Regions from separate parts of the Homo sapiens genome. Here all the other regions are linked to region 1. Evidence: promoter capture Hi-C in human tissues and cell types (Jung and others, 2019). All regions are on one chromosome and are shown on one strand. Each heading gives the region's core, a stretch centred on a gene start or on the middle of the fragment in contact. The rest is flanking DNA. Distances are from core to core; before and after follow the strand shown. Region 1 holds the start of NRN1L (neuritin 1 like). Region 2 overlaps ATP6V0D1 (ATPase H+ transporting V0 subunit d1). Region 3 overlaps CTCF (CCCTC-binding factor). Region 4 overlaps CTCF (CCCTC-binding factor). Region 5 overlaps NFATC3 (nuclear factor of activated T cells 3).

Region 1 (2,517 bases), core at 8-2,507:
CCTGTGCCGCGCTCCCGAACATGCACCGGGGCACCGCACAGAGTGTGCAAGTTATTCGGACGGGGGGCCTGGCGAGCTTCTTGCTGTAGTGATTCCCACACTGCAGCTGCCTCCTCCGGACAGCCTGACAGGACCTGAGAGGCACAGGCATGGAAGTCATTCCAAGACCTGTTAAGGGAGTGGGATTAGGGGGATTAGGTGAGGCAAGGAGACTTTAGCTTGGGAAATAAAAGGTTCAGTCCCCAATGGTGGCACAGGTTGGGCCACTGCCTCACACCCGCCGGTACCTGCAGATGGTCTCCAGCTCGCCTCCGCGGCCCATGCTGTCCCCCAAGCGGATGAGACACTCGGCGAAGCCCTGGTATATGGTGTCACATCGGTTTGGGCCCGCTGCAGCTGCTGCCAGGGGAGGTAAAAGGACTAGAAGTGGGGCGGGGGTGGGGTGGGGAAGGAATGGTAGATAGGATGAGCCAGGCTCATCCCCCAGCCCCCAGGGGCTTGTTTACCTGGGAGCACTCTGGGGATGTGACTCAGCGGAAAAAGGGTGCCCCAGGGAACTAAAGGGCAAGTCTGGGGATTACCTACCCAGGCCCCCTTCAAGGTAGGACCCAGACTGGGATTTGTACAGGGGAAGGGGGTGTTGTGTACCCCAGGTCAGCTCTTCCTTTGAGCTTCTGGGGCCGCAGGTGGGGTGACAAGGGTCCATGTAAAGGAGTCAGGACAGGGTGGAGGGGAGGGAGGTCCAGAGGCCCCGGACCAGGAGCAGGTGCATCTCTCTGCGGTTTAGACAAGCTTTGCTTGGCCCTCCGAACTCTCTCTAAAGATAAATATTTTTGGAGAGACAAGGCAGGATGCAGAGGTATTGGGATCCAGGCCAGACCCTCAGAGAGGACTTAGGGATCCTACGACTGGTCTATAAGTCCTGCCATTGGCATGTCTCCCTTTATCATAAGAGGGGATGCAAATTTTGGAGTCCTTCTCCCATAACTGGGGCTGTTTGTGCCTCTCACTTTCTGTCCTGAAGTCACCAGCACACCTTCCTGGAGCCCTTACAACTCTTCTCCACCCTGGCACCCAGCGTTCCCACACACCCTATGCCCAGCCTGGCTTGGCTGGGCGAGAAGGGGGTGTGGCCCGGGCCCCGGATGCCCGCACTCACCGAGGGGCAGCAACAGCAACGGCCTCAGGGCATGGGGTGGTTGCCGGCAGCAGCAGCGGCGGCGGCAGCAGCGCATCATCCCTGGCTGAGAGCCTAGTGCAGGAGCTAGCTGCTTGGAGTGCAGCCCGTCCGCCCAGCCCCCGGAGGGAGGGACGGTGATTGGATGGGAGCTGGGGGTGGGGCTCCGAACCCAGCCGGCGGCTCCGCCTCCAACACCCAGATGGGAAAAGGAGCGAGGAGACCTCAGAGAGCAGAAATTCGCAGGAGCACAGGCTGGTGCTGGGCAGGCCCCTGGACCCTCACTCCATAGAAGGAGGGAGAAGGGAGATCTGGGAAGGCAGTTGGAGCAGATGAGTGGGTAACCCGGCCCCTTGGCTGGGTTGGCCTCGACAGAGCTCCACGGGCAAGAGATGGGCAGAGAACGAACAGACGGCAGTTATGAGAGTCACACCAAAGACAAACCAAAAGCACACACATACTCCATTTTATTCCAAAAGCATTTAATTGAATTTCTCAATGTTTTTCAAAAACAAAAAGATCCAAATTAGAGGTAAAAAGGAACATGGAAAATTCCACTCAAGTGGTGTCACGATCTCAGGGTCATGCTCCAGGCATGGCAGAACCCAAGCAGGCGCAATACCTGCCCTGGGCCCAGCTAAACCTTCTGACTACCACACGCTGTAGACCACGGCCAGTGCTCCCTGCTCCCTGACCCCCAAACACCCCAGAGATGGGGGCCTGAGCAGGTAAAGGCCAGCCGTGACCCTGCCCCAGCCTAGGCCTGTCTGCTGGCCTTCAGTGCCATCCCACCCCTGGGCAAGGCAGGCTTAGCAGCTAAGGGAGGCTGGGGGTCACGAGGCCATGCAGCATGAGGCTGAGACGCCGAGCTGCTTTGCCAAGTGAGTTGTGTGGCTCAGCCTGCAGGAACTGAAAAAGCTTTTGGCGCACCTGGGCCATAACGGAGCCCATGTGGTCCCGAGTGATGGGGTCACTGTGGTCCAGGTGCATCACGGCCTCTTCCAGGTAGCTGGGGATGGGGGGGAAAGGACAGGCTACAGGTGGGTGCCAGCAGACGGGAGCGCCCCCTGGTGGCACCGAGGCCCAGAGGGAACCCTCTGGGTGAAGGCAGAAAGGACTGGTGGAGAAAATTAGGGAGAGGATTCAGGCAGAAGTGGGCGTCAGCTTCAAACTGCTCCCTCCCACTGCCCCACTCCCCAGCTCATCTCCCCATCCCTGGCTGTCCCCACTTACCTGAGCTTGAGGTCAGTTCGAGTGCCAAGGTCAGATGCCAGCTGCTGGATGAGGGAAAGGAGCACAGGCTGGGAGAGCGGGCAGGGTGGCTGCCCAAAAACCTGGGC
Region 2 (2,517 bases), core at 6-2,505, 440 kb after region 1:
GGCCTCCCAAAGTGCTGGGATAACAGGCATGAGCCACAGCACCCACCCTCATCTTCTATTTATTTTATTTTTTGAGATAGGATCTTGCTCTGTTGCCCAGGCTGGAGTGCAGTGGCATGATCATAGCTCACCTGCAGCCTTGATCTCCTGGGCTCAAGTGATCCTCCTGCCTCAGCCTCCCAAGTGTCTGGTATTACAAGTGCATGCCACCACACCTGGCTAATTTTTTTGATTTTTTAATAGAAATGAGGTCTTGCTATGTTGCCCAGGCTGGCCTCAAACTCCTGAGCTAAGAGAGCCTCCCACCTCTGCCTCCCAAAGTGCTGGGATTACTGGTGTGAGCCACCATGCCTGGCCCTCACTCATCTTGATATGGAGGAGAAACTAAGTCTCGAGAGGTGGTGTGCTGAGGCCATGGACAGAGCTCAGAAACAGTGATATTTCTGTTCACTTTCCACTCTGCACAGGGCTCTTCAGGACCCAGAAGTGATTGAATACAGATACTGTCATTAGCAGCTCACTGGAGCACCTGCTGGGGACTGCAGTGGACAGGCTGGCAGGGTTACCCAGGCATCATGGCTGCCTCACCAGCACCAGACCAGCCACCCGGGGTTGAGAAGCCATATTGTTCCAGCAGGTGGCACCAAAGGGCGCAGCAGAGGGGCAGAGTTGGCTAGGGACTCTGAAGGCTTCTTGGAGGAAGTGGCTTCCTAAACTCCAACCCAAGATGTCTGTGGGCCCAAGCTGAGTTTTGAAGGCACAGGGCAAGGGAGGGCCTCTGGGCAGAGGAATACAGACGGCCCCACCCCCACCCCACAAGGGCCTCTTTGGCCTGGCGGGCAGCCGGCCCTCCACTCCCCAGCTGTCTTCCCCTGGAGGGAGATGCTGACCAGCTGGAACCTTATTCCCTCCTATTGAGGCCAAATGAGGGGAGGAATGGTGGAGTGGCTTTCTGGGGGCAGGGAGGCAGCTGCTGAAGCCAGGCAAGGAGGAAGAGGAGGATTTCCCTGCCTGCCGAAGGCCTCGGCCTTGGGAGAAAGGCAGACTGCTGGGCCAGCCTTATCTCTGCCAGGCCTGTCCAGCCTCTCATCTCCTGAAAAAGAGGATTCTGCCCCTCACTGGGCAGGAGAGAAAAGCAGGGCTGCAGCAGCAACAAGCTTATAGCCAGCCCGGCAAGGGAAGTGCTGGGCCTGGCACAGGATCGCCCACGATTGGCCTGGCTTGGGTTTGAAGAGGGCCTTGAAGGGGCTGGGGTAGTGCGATTGTGAGTGGCCCTTACTAGGCTCAGCATTTCCCCCACATAAACAGATGCCCTGAGTGGGGGGCGCAAGGAGGGGGACGTTGAAAAAGAGGAGATTGGCTGGTGGGGATCCCTCTGAGAAAATGAGACTAGGTGGGGTATGTAGAGCCAGGCAGGGGGCCCTGGTCATGGGTGGAGGTGTGTGGACATTGGCCATGGGGACGTGGAGCTCCTCTGCTTTGTGGTGTGTTAGGGCCTGGTGCTGGCCCTCTCTGGGCCTTATCTGCTCTGACAGTGGGGCTGGTAATGCTAGTGGTTGTGGGATCACTTGGATAAGGTGGGCCTTGGGTGTGCTTTTTCTCCCTCTTCCCGTCCGAAAGGGAGGGAGAGCATAAGAAAGCATCCTTCTGCTTGGGGGCAGGGGATTTGTGACTGTCTCAGGGAGCACCAAGGCTACATTGGGGCTGGATGGGGTGCAGTTAGAGTATTGCGGGGTGGCGCATATGCAGCATGGGTTCTGGGGTATGTGAGATGTTGGAGGCCTCATAGGCAGGAGGCGTGTGTGCTGTCCGGGGTAGAAAATATGCAGGCTGGAGCTGCAGACCATGGCCCAAAGCTCTGGCGAGCTCTGAGGTCCCTCACTCTGCCAGCACTGTGGGGTTGGGGGCAGGAGGCTGCCCATTTGGGCCTCTTGGCTTGCAGCTGCAAGTGGGCCCTGCTTAAGGCTCTCAGTTATGGTTGGGAGTTAGGGGACTGTCTCTTCTCAGTGCACATCCTGTAGCTGACCCAGCCAGATTGGGGGTGGAGAGAGGGCAGTTGCCTGGCTCCAGGCCCAGGAGAGCAAAGGTCTTCGCAGGGCGCCAGGCTGGGTGGGAGCTGGGGGAGTGCAGAGCAAGCAGGGGGAGTGGGGGTCAGGCCAGGACAGGAGCTGGGGCCTTTTCCTCCTGCCGCCTTTCTAGAGGGCCCTGTGGGAGCTCCCCCAGTGGCCAGTGCTTTGAGCCGTGGCCTGGGCCCTGGGCTGCCACCTCCCCTCCTTTCTTTCTTCAGTATGGGGGAAGACACCTCCTACCAAGGTCTTCTCTGGACAGCCTGAGCACTAGTTGCACAAGGTCCTGTCACAGGGCAGGGGCCTAGCTCTGGCCCACTCAGAAGCTAGGACAAGACCCGTGTTCAGTGCCCAGCTCAGAACAGCAGCCTCCACCCCAACTTTTATCCCATAGGTGCCTCACCTTGACCTTGGAGGAATTTCCCCTAGGCCTCATTTAGCTCCCTCATAC
Region 3 (2,517 bases), core at 9-2,508, 290 kb after region 1:
CTAAGCGAATTAAGGCAGGAACAGAAAACCAAGTATCTCATGTTCTCACTTACAAGTGGAAGCTACACACTGGGTACACATGGACATAAACATAACAATAGGCCTTAGGGATTAGGAGGGGGAGGGAGAAAACGGGGTAAGGGCTGCAAAACTAATCATTGGGTACTATGCTCATTACCTGGGTGATGAGCAACAATTGTACCCCCAAACCTCATAATCACACAATATACCCATGTACACAAAAAAACTTGGACATGTACCCCCGAATCTAAAATAAAAGTTGAAATTGTAAAAAATTTTAAGAGAACAGAAGATACCTTGCACCTTTCTCTTTATATGTATAAAATATATATTAAAAACCATATATTAAAATATAAAAAAGATATACAAATATATAAATATAAAATATATATTAAACATTTATACATATATATATAAATTTTTTTTTTCCAGATGGAGTTTCACTCTGTCACCCAGGCTGGAATGCAGTGGCGCGATCTCGGCTCACTGCAACCCCTGCCTCCAGGTTCAACCGATTCTCCTGCCTCAGCCTCCTAAGTAGCTGGGACTACAGGCACATGCCACTGTGCCCCGCTAATTTTTGTATTTTTAGTAGAGACGGGGTTTCACCATGTTGGCCAGGCTGGTCTCAAACTCCTGAGCTCAAGTGATCCACCCACCTCGGCCTCCCAAAGTGCTGAGATTACTGACGTTGAGCCAGTCACCAACGCCTGGCCTCTGTAAGTATCTTTTTTTGATGTTGTTGTTTTTGAGACGGAGTCTCACTCTGTCACCCAGGCTGCAGTGCAGTGGCACGATCTTGGCTCACTGCGACTTCCGCCTCCTGGGCTCAAATAATTCTAATGTCTCAGCCTCCCGAGTGGCTGGGACTACAGGCGCATGCCACCATGCCGGCTAATTTTTATATTTTTAGTAGAGACAGGGTTTCACCATACTGGTCAGGATGGTCTCAAACTTCTGAGCTCTGGTGATCCTCCCACCTCAGCCTCCTAAATTACTGGGATTACAGGCATGAGCCACTGTGCCTGGCCTTATTTATTTTTTTAGACAGATTCTTGCTCTGCCACCCAGGCTGGAGCGCAGTGGCACAATCCCGGCCACTGCAACCTCTGCCTCCAGGGTTCAAGCAATTCTCCTGCCTCAGCCTCCTGAGCAGCTGGGATCACAGGCGTACACCACTATGCCCAGCAAATTTTTGTATTTTTAGTAGAGACAGGGTTTCACTATGTTGGCCAGGCTGGTCTCAAACTCCTGACCTCAGGTGATGTGCCCGCCTCATCCTCCCAAAGTGCTGGGTTTACAGGTGTGAGCCACTGCGTCCAGTCGATAGATCTTTACATTAGAAAAATGTTGACTGAAAAGCTTAGTCTGGTATTCTCACTATACAGAATGTTAAATGACATTAGGACAAGGAGGGGAAAAAAAGCAATTATAAGTCATCAGGTCGGGCACAGTGGCTCACACATATAATCCCAGTACTTGGGGAGGCAGAGCCAAGAGAATCGTTTGAGCCCAGGAGTTCAAGACCAGCCTGAGCAACATAGTGAGACCTTGTCTCCATTAAAAATTAAAAAAAAAATTAGCTAGGTATGATGGCATCCATCTGTAGTCCCAGCTACTCGGGACTGAGGCGGGAGGATCGCCTGAGCCCAGGCTGCAGTAAGCTATCATCACACCACTGCATTCCAGTCTGAGTGACAGCGCAAGACTCTGTGCCCTTACTGCCCCCCCCCAAAAAAAGTAATCAGTTTTTCCTGAGGATGAAAGGAAAAGCTAAGTAACTTTTACTAGATGCAGGACACTAGCCAAAACGAATAAAAGTTATTAACTCTTTTAGAGTAAAAGCTAGGTTTAAAAGTTAAACAAAATAACCATTTTACTCTGCTATTCCTGAAAACATATACGCCATCATCTTATCTGAGAGCTTAAAATACATCAAAGCAAAGTATCAGTGAACTAGTACCAGGAAAGTTGTAGACTACAATAAAGAATGAGGAGGAGTTGAATTGGGAGAATAACTTGGGCTGAGAAGCAGAAAAATAATAGTGACCATTTCTTTCACAGTGACTGGGAACGGAAGCAGCCTTTATCTGAAAAAGCACTCATCTATTTAATCACAACTGTACCTCTCACTTCTCTGACATTAATTTTCATTTATTTTTTGAGACAGAGTCTCGCTCTGTCACCCAGGCTGGAGTGCAGTGGTGAGATCTTGGCTCACTGCAATCTCTGCCTCCTGTGTTCAAGCAATTCTCAGCCTCAGCCTCCTGAGTAGCTGGGATTACAGGCACGCATCACCACGACTAGCTAATTTTTGTATTTTTCGTAGAGATGGGGTTTCATCATGTTGGCTAGGCTAGTCTCAAACTCCTGACCTCAAGTGATCTGCCCGCCTCGGCCTCCCAAAGTGCTGGGATTACGGTGGCTCACGCCTGTAATCACAGCATTTGTGTGAGCCACCCAGTCCAGCATTTTTTTTTTTTTTTTTTTTTTTGA
Region 4 (2,517 bases), core at 6-2,505, 280 kb after region 1:
CCTGATTCAAACCAATAAATGGTGAAAAAGATGTGACACAAGACAATTAGAAATTTCAACTCTGGATATCTGATGATATTAAAGAATTACTAACAAAACTAATTTAAATCTTACACATGTAGTGGGGAAGACACTGGTAAAGGACATATAATTTCAGTGGGAATAAGTTCAAGAGATCTATTATACAACATGAATATTACAGTTAATAATAACGTATACCTGAAAATAACTGAGAGCAGATTTTTAAGTGTTCTCATCACAAAAAATGACAAGGATGTGAGATGATGCATATATGAATTAGCTTAATTTTCTGCAATTATGGGGTCTTGCCACATTTCCAGACTGGCCTTGAACTCCTGGGCTGAAGCAATCCTCCCACCTAAGCCTCCCAAAGTGCTGGGATTATACATGTGACTGAGCCACTGTGCCCGGGTCTGCCAATGTTTTGTAAAAAGCTTTATTAAGGTAGCTTTATTAAGCACGTGGTGGCTCACGCCTATAATCCCAGCACTTTGGGAGGCTGAGGTGTGTGGATCACCTGAGGTCGGGAGTACGAGACCACCCTGAACAACATGGAGAAACCCCGTCCTAAGTAAAAATACAAAATTAGCCAGGTGTGATGGTGCATGCCTGTATGTAATCCTGGCTACTTGGGAGGCTGAGGCAGGAGAATCGTTTGACCCGGGAGGTGGAGGTTGCGGTGAGCCAAGATTGCGCCATTGTACTGTGCAGCCTGGGCAACAAGAACGAAACTCCGTCTCAAAAAAGAAAAAAAAAAACACTAAATACACCTCCAAAATTTCCTTGTATTTTGTTTTTGGTGATAATATTTATCATGAGATCCATCCTCAACATAATTCAAAGTGCATAATGCTATACGATTAATACAGGAACTATGTTGTGTAGCAGATCTCTAGAACTTACTCATCTTGCATAACTGAAACTTTATACCCACTCAACAGCAATTCCCCATTTTCCCCACCCTGTCAAGGGTTTTTGACCTTGTTTTTTGAAGCCAAACTCAGAACTTAGATCCAGACTGCAATGGCCGTGTTTGTAGACACTGCACAAAACTGCCCATGTCATACCATCAACTTGACATTCACCTCTCTCCTGACAATGAGATCAGGAATTCCCTGAGAATAAGAACCACATCTAACAAGTCGTTTTTTTTTTTTTAATTTTTTTTTTGAGACGGAGTCTCGCTCTGTTGCCCAGGCTAGGGTGCAGTGGCACGATCTCCGCTCACTGCAAGCTCCGCCTCCCAGGTTCACGCCATTCTCCTGCCTCAGCCTCCCGAGTAGCTGGGACTACAGGCGCCCACCACCATGCCCGGCTAATTTTTTGTATTTTTAGTAGAGACGGGGTTTCACCATGTTAGCCAGGATGGTCTCGATTTCCTGACCTCGTGATCCGCCTGCCTCGGCCTCCCAAAGTGCTGGGATTACAGGTGTGAGCCACTGCGCCCAACCGGTTTTTACTTTTTTTTTTTTTTTGAGTCGGAGTCTCGCACTGTCGCCCAGGCTGGAGTGCAATGGCGTGATCTTGGCTCACTGCAACCTCTGCCTCCCAGGTTTAAGTGATTCTCCTGCTTCAGCCTCCGGAGTAGTTGGGATTACAGGTGCCCACCACCACACCTGGCTAATTTTCTGTATTTTTAGCAGATACGGGGTTTCACTATGTTGGCCAGGCTGGTCTTGAACTTCTGACCTCGTGATCTGTCCGCCTCGGCCTCCCAAAGTGCTGGGACTACAGGCGTGAGCCACCACGCCCAGCCACGGTTTTTACTCTTTAGCACTGTGCCCAGGATGGTAAGTACTCAATAAATGCCAACCAAATTGAATATATAATAGAAAGCAGAAAACAAATCAGCCAATTCATAGTTTTTGGCTCTTATATCTTGTGAATGGGCCGGGCACGGTAGCTCACGCCTGTAATCCCAGCACTTTGGGAGGCCAAGGCTGGTGGATCAGTTGAGGCCAGGAGTTCAAGACCAGCCTGGCTAACATGGCAAAACCCCATCTCTACTAAAAATACAAAAATTAGCCAGGCGTAGTGGTGTGCACCTGTAATCCCAGCTACTTGGGAGGCTGAGGCACGAAAAGAACTTGAACCCTGGAGGTGGAGGTTGCAGCGAGCTGAGAAAGTGCCCCTGCATTCCAGCCTGGGCGACAGAGTGAGACTCGGTCTCAAAAACAAAAAATAAAAAACAAACAAAAATCTTGTGAATGACATTACCTAAACAAGAGTAAAATAGGGGCCAGGCGTGGTGGCTCAGGCCTGTAATCCCAGCATTTTGGGAGGCCGAGGCGGGCAGATCACTTGAAGTCAGGAGATGGAGACAAGCCTGGCCAACACGGCAAAACCCCGTTTCTATTAAAAATACAAAAATTAGCCAGGTGTGGTGGCACATGCCTGTAATCCCAGCTACTCAGGAGGCCGAGGCAGAAGAATTGCTTGAACCTGGGAGGTGGAGGTTGCAGTGAGCTGAGATTGGGCCACTGTACTCCCTCCAGC
Region 5 (2,517 bases), core at 11-2,510, 260 kb before region 1:
TATAATAATGTTTTGCAACGGGCAAGATTCTTTATTATAATTCATACTGCAGAAACAATTCCAGATTCAAGGAAGATGACAAATCGTAATTCCAACTACCCTTCTCAAAGGATATAAGTAGAGCATATAAAGCAGGGAAAAACAGCTAATAAATAAATGGAAAAATGCTCAATCTTATTAAATATCAAATAAATAAGAAAACTACTTCTAACCTATCAAAAAAGCAAAGAACAGAGAAGTGGTAATAGTCTACACAGACAACTTTTCCCCTTTGTGGCTGTTTATATGATTTGCTCATTTTCTGTTTCTATTTTAGTATTATTAATTTTACAAGCCCTTTAGATATACTAAGCATATTAACCCTTTGTCTGCCTTACAAGTTATAAATATGGTTTTGTTTTCCATTTATCACCAATTCTGGATCAATTTCTGCTCCTCAGAAGGGAACCATTTGTAACCCTTTTCACTGTTTCTTTTGGAACTTACTTCCATATTTCTAAGGAACATGTTAATACTGCTATTTCCTAATGTTTTTCAAGGTTAGATATATTATCTTTTGAACTTTCAGTGTTTGCATTATAACTGGATACATGTTACTTGCAGCTCAGCCTTGTAGTGTATTTTAATTATATTTCCTTTTTCATACAACTTATTTGGTTACAGTTAATAATTGCCTTTTATATTAGGATTAAGTTTGGCTGCATAAACAAAAATCCAAAGTAACAGTAATTTAAACATGTTAAAAGTAAAGTTTATTTCTTAGAATCTACAGGTCTCTTCTACTGGACCAGTGAGTTTGCCTAAAACACATCCTGCAGTCTTCTGCCTAGGGAGCATAGTAAACCTATTGCAAGCATTGTGGGAACTAATAAAATGGTCAGAGGTCTCACTCTTCAGTATGCAGACTTCCATTATGCCTTCCCTTCCGCCCCCACCCCATTTTAAGAACAGATCATTAAGCCTAGCCTTTAGCTCTCCTAGAATCTAGAACCTCCACTTCATTCTCTCTATAGAATCACCAGATTCTCTCAGGGTAAGACAGGCATTATCACTAGGCTGTACCACACAGGAAAGAAACATCTGGGAAATTTAAGTCCTTTTTAAATTCAATTTAATTTTTTTTTCTTTTAAGATGGAGTCTCGCTGTGTTGCCCAGGCTGGAGTGCAGTGGTGCTGCAACCTCCACCTCCCAGGTTCAAGCAATTCTTCTGCCTCAGCCTCCTGAGTAGCTGGAACTACAGGCATGAGCCACCATGCCCGGCTAATTTTTTTGTATTTTTAGTAGAGACAGGGTTTCACCATGTTGGCCAGGTGGTCCCAAACTCCTGTCCTCAAATGATCCACCCGCCTCAACCTCCTAAGGTGCTAGGATTACAGGTGTGAACCACCGTGCCCGGTCTTAACTCCTTCTTTTATAGACTTTTTATCCAATCTTCTTGTTTTCAGTCTCACCTCACATCCCACTTTCAGAGATATCCAGTACGTCAAATTCCTGAACCTTTCCAGAGTTCTCAGATGCAAAATGACTTGTGCTGCTTGCTTATTGGTTCTTTCTCACCTGCCAGCAGGCTTAAGCTACAGCTGTCTTATGTTTAGTGAAAGTAAACCTGTTCAATTTATTACATTTATGTTTCCATTTTCTGTAAATATTTTAATTTTTATGTAGTCAAGAAATCTATCAGTATTCTCATTTGTAATTTTTTTACACATTTTAGTGTAAAATTAATAAATTTCAAAGCTTTAATTATGGAAACTATTCCATAAAACTATAAAATGTCAATATCATCACAATAACAAAAATAAAGCCTAGGTCAGGCACGGTGGCTCACACCTGTAATCCCAGCACTTTGGGAGGCCTAGGCAGGTGGATCACCCGAGGTCGGGAGTTCGAGACCAGCCTGACCAACATGGAGAAACCCCATCTCTACTAAAAATACAAAATTAGCCGGGCATGGTGGCGAATGCCTCTAATCCCAGCTACTCAGGAAGACTGAGGCAGGAGAATCGCTTGAACCCAGGAGGCGGAGGTTGCAGTGAGCCGAGATCGCGCCATTGCACTCCAGCCTGGAGTGCAAAACAAGAGCAAAACTCCATCTCTAAATAAATAAATAAATAAATCCTAAATAAATCAATAGCTAAAAGGAAACTGGAAAAGTTTGGGCATATATTTTATGTGTATCTGTGCAAAAACAAATTTCAGCCATTACTCTTTTGGTTTATCTGGCGGCAGATGGGGTAAGTAATAATGCCACGTGAGATTCATCCAGATTTATACCCAGAGGTAAAAAAAAATGAAGGTAGAGAGTGGTTATAGTTCACTGCATCCAAAAACTCCTGTGGACTATATGTCTTTTTTTTTTTTTTTTTTTCAGTTCACAGATAATCTGAAGCTAACAATGATTAGGCAACTTCCTCACATTCATCTATTCAGTGATTAGTCATTCCTTTTTGGTATACCTGTTGCTCTTTCATGTTTAATCATAAATTTAACAAATTATTCTACATGACCAACTGTTC

The links. The method cuts DNA at HindIII sites, captures the fragments that hold promoters and counts their contacts. A contact is called where the count stands out against the background at its distance.
Region 2: a fragment that was not itself captured here is called in contact with the fragment with the promoter of NRN1L in region 1 in 2 of the 25 tissues and cell types used here (dorsolateral prefrontal cortex and spleen).
Region 3: a fragment that was not itself captured here is called in contact with the fragment with the promoter of NRN1L in region 1 in 3 of the 25 tissues and cell types used here (dorsolateral prefrontal cortex, lymphoblastoid cells and spleen).
Region 4: a contact is called between a fragment that was not itself captured here and the fragment with the promoter of NRN1L in region 1, in 2 of the 25 tissues and cell types used here (dorsolateral prefrontal cortex and spleen).
Region 5: a contact is called between a fragment that was not itself captured here and the fragment with the promoter of NRN1L in region 1, in 2 of the 25 tissues and cell types used here (dorsolateral prefrontal cortex and spleen).

What each region holds. Positions count from the first base shown.
Region 1 is chr16:67,883,625-67,886,141 of GRCh38, reverse strand. NRN1L (neuritin 1 like) reads right to left here and starts at 1,257. Exons shown (of 3, transcript NM_198443.2): 1 at 1,160-1,257; 2 at 288-420; 3 at 1-168. The coding sequence starts at 1,238. It overlaps EDC4 (enhancer of mRNA decapping 4), which reads right to left. Exons shown (of 29, transcript NM_014329.5): 28 at 2,411-2,517; 29 at 1,643-2,186. The coding sequence ends at 1,994. RefSeq lists enhancers at 663-1,170, 1,171-1,680, 1,986-2,165. The HindIII fragment of the contact is 2,833 bases long and covers 202-2,517 here.
Region 2 is chr16:67,445,909-67,448,425 of GRCh38, reverse strand. The region is part of intron 2 of ATP6V0D1 (ATPase H+ transporting V0 subunit d1); the gene reads left to right. Among named protein-coding and RNA genes, the nearest start is that of HSD11B2, 16 kb to the right of the region's middle. RefSeq lists an enhancer at 671-1,170. The HindIII fragment of the contact is 4,026 bases long and covers 1-2,517 here.
Region 3 is chr16:67,590,959-67,593,475 of GRCh38, reverse strand. All of the region lies in intron 2 of CTCF (CCCTC-binding factor), which reads right to left. Among named protein-coding and RNA genes, the nearest start is that of CTCF, 30 kb to the right of the region's middle. The HindIII fragment of the contact is 6,285 bases long and covers 1-2,517 here.
Region 4 is chr16:67,606,998-67,609,514 of GRCh38, reverse strand. All of the region lies in intron 2 of CTCF (CCCTC-binding factor), which reads right to left. Among named protein-coding and RNA genes, the nearest start is that of CARMIL2, 37 kb to the left of the region's middle. The HindIII fragment of the contact is 5,706 bases long and covers 1-2,517 here.
Region 5 is chr16:68,147,608-68,150,124 of GRCh38, reverse strand. The region is part of intron 3 of NFATC3 (nuclear factor of activated T cells 3); the gene reads right to left. Among named protein-coding and RNA genes, the nearest start is that of NFATC3, 63 kb to the right of the region's middle. The HindIII fragment of the contact is 8,254 bases long and covers 1-2,517 here.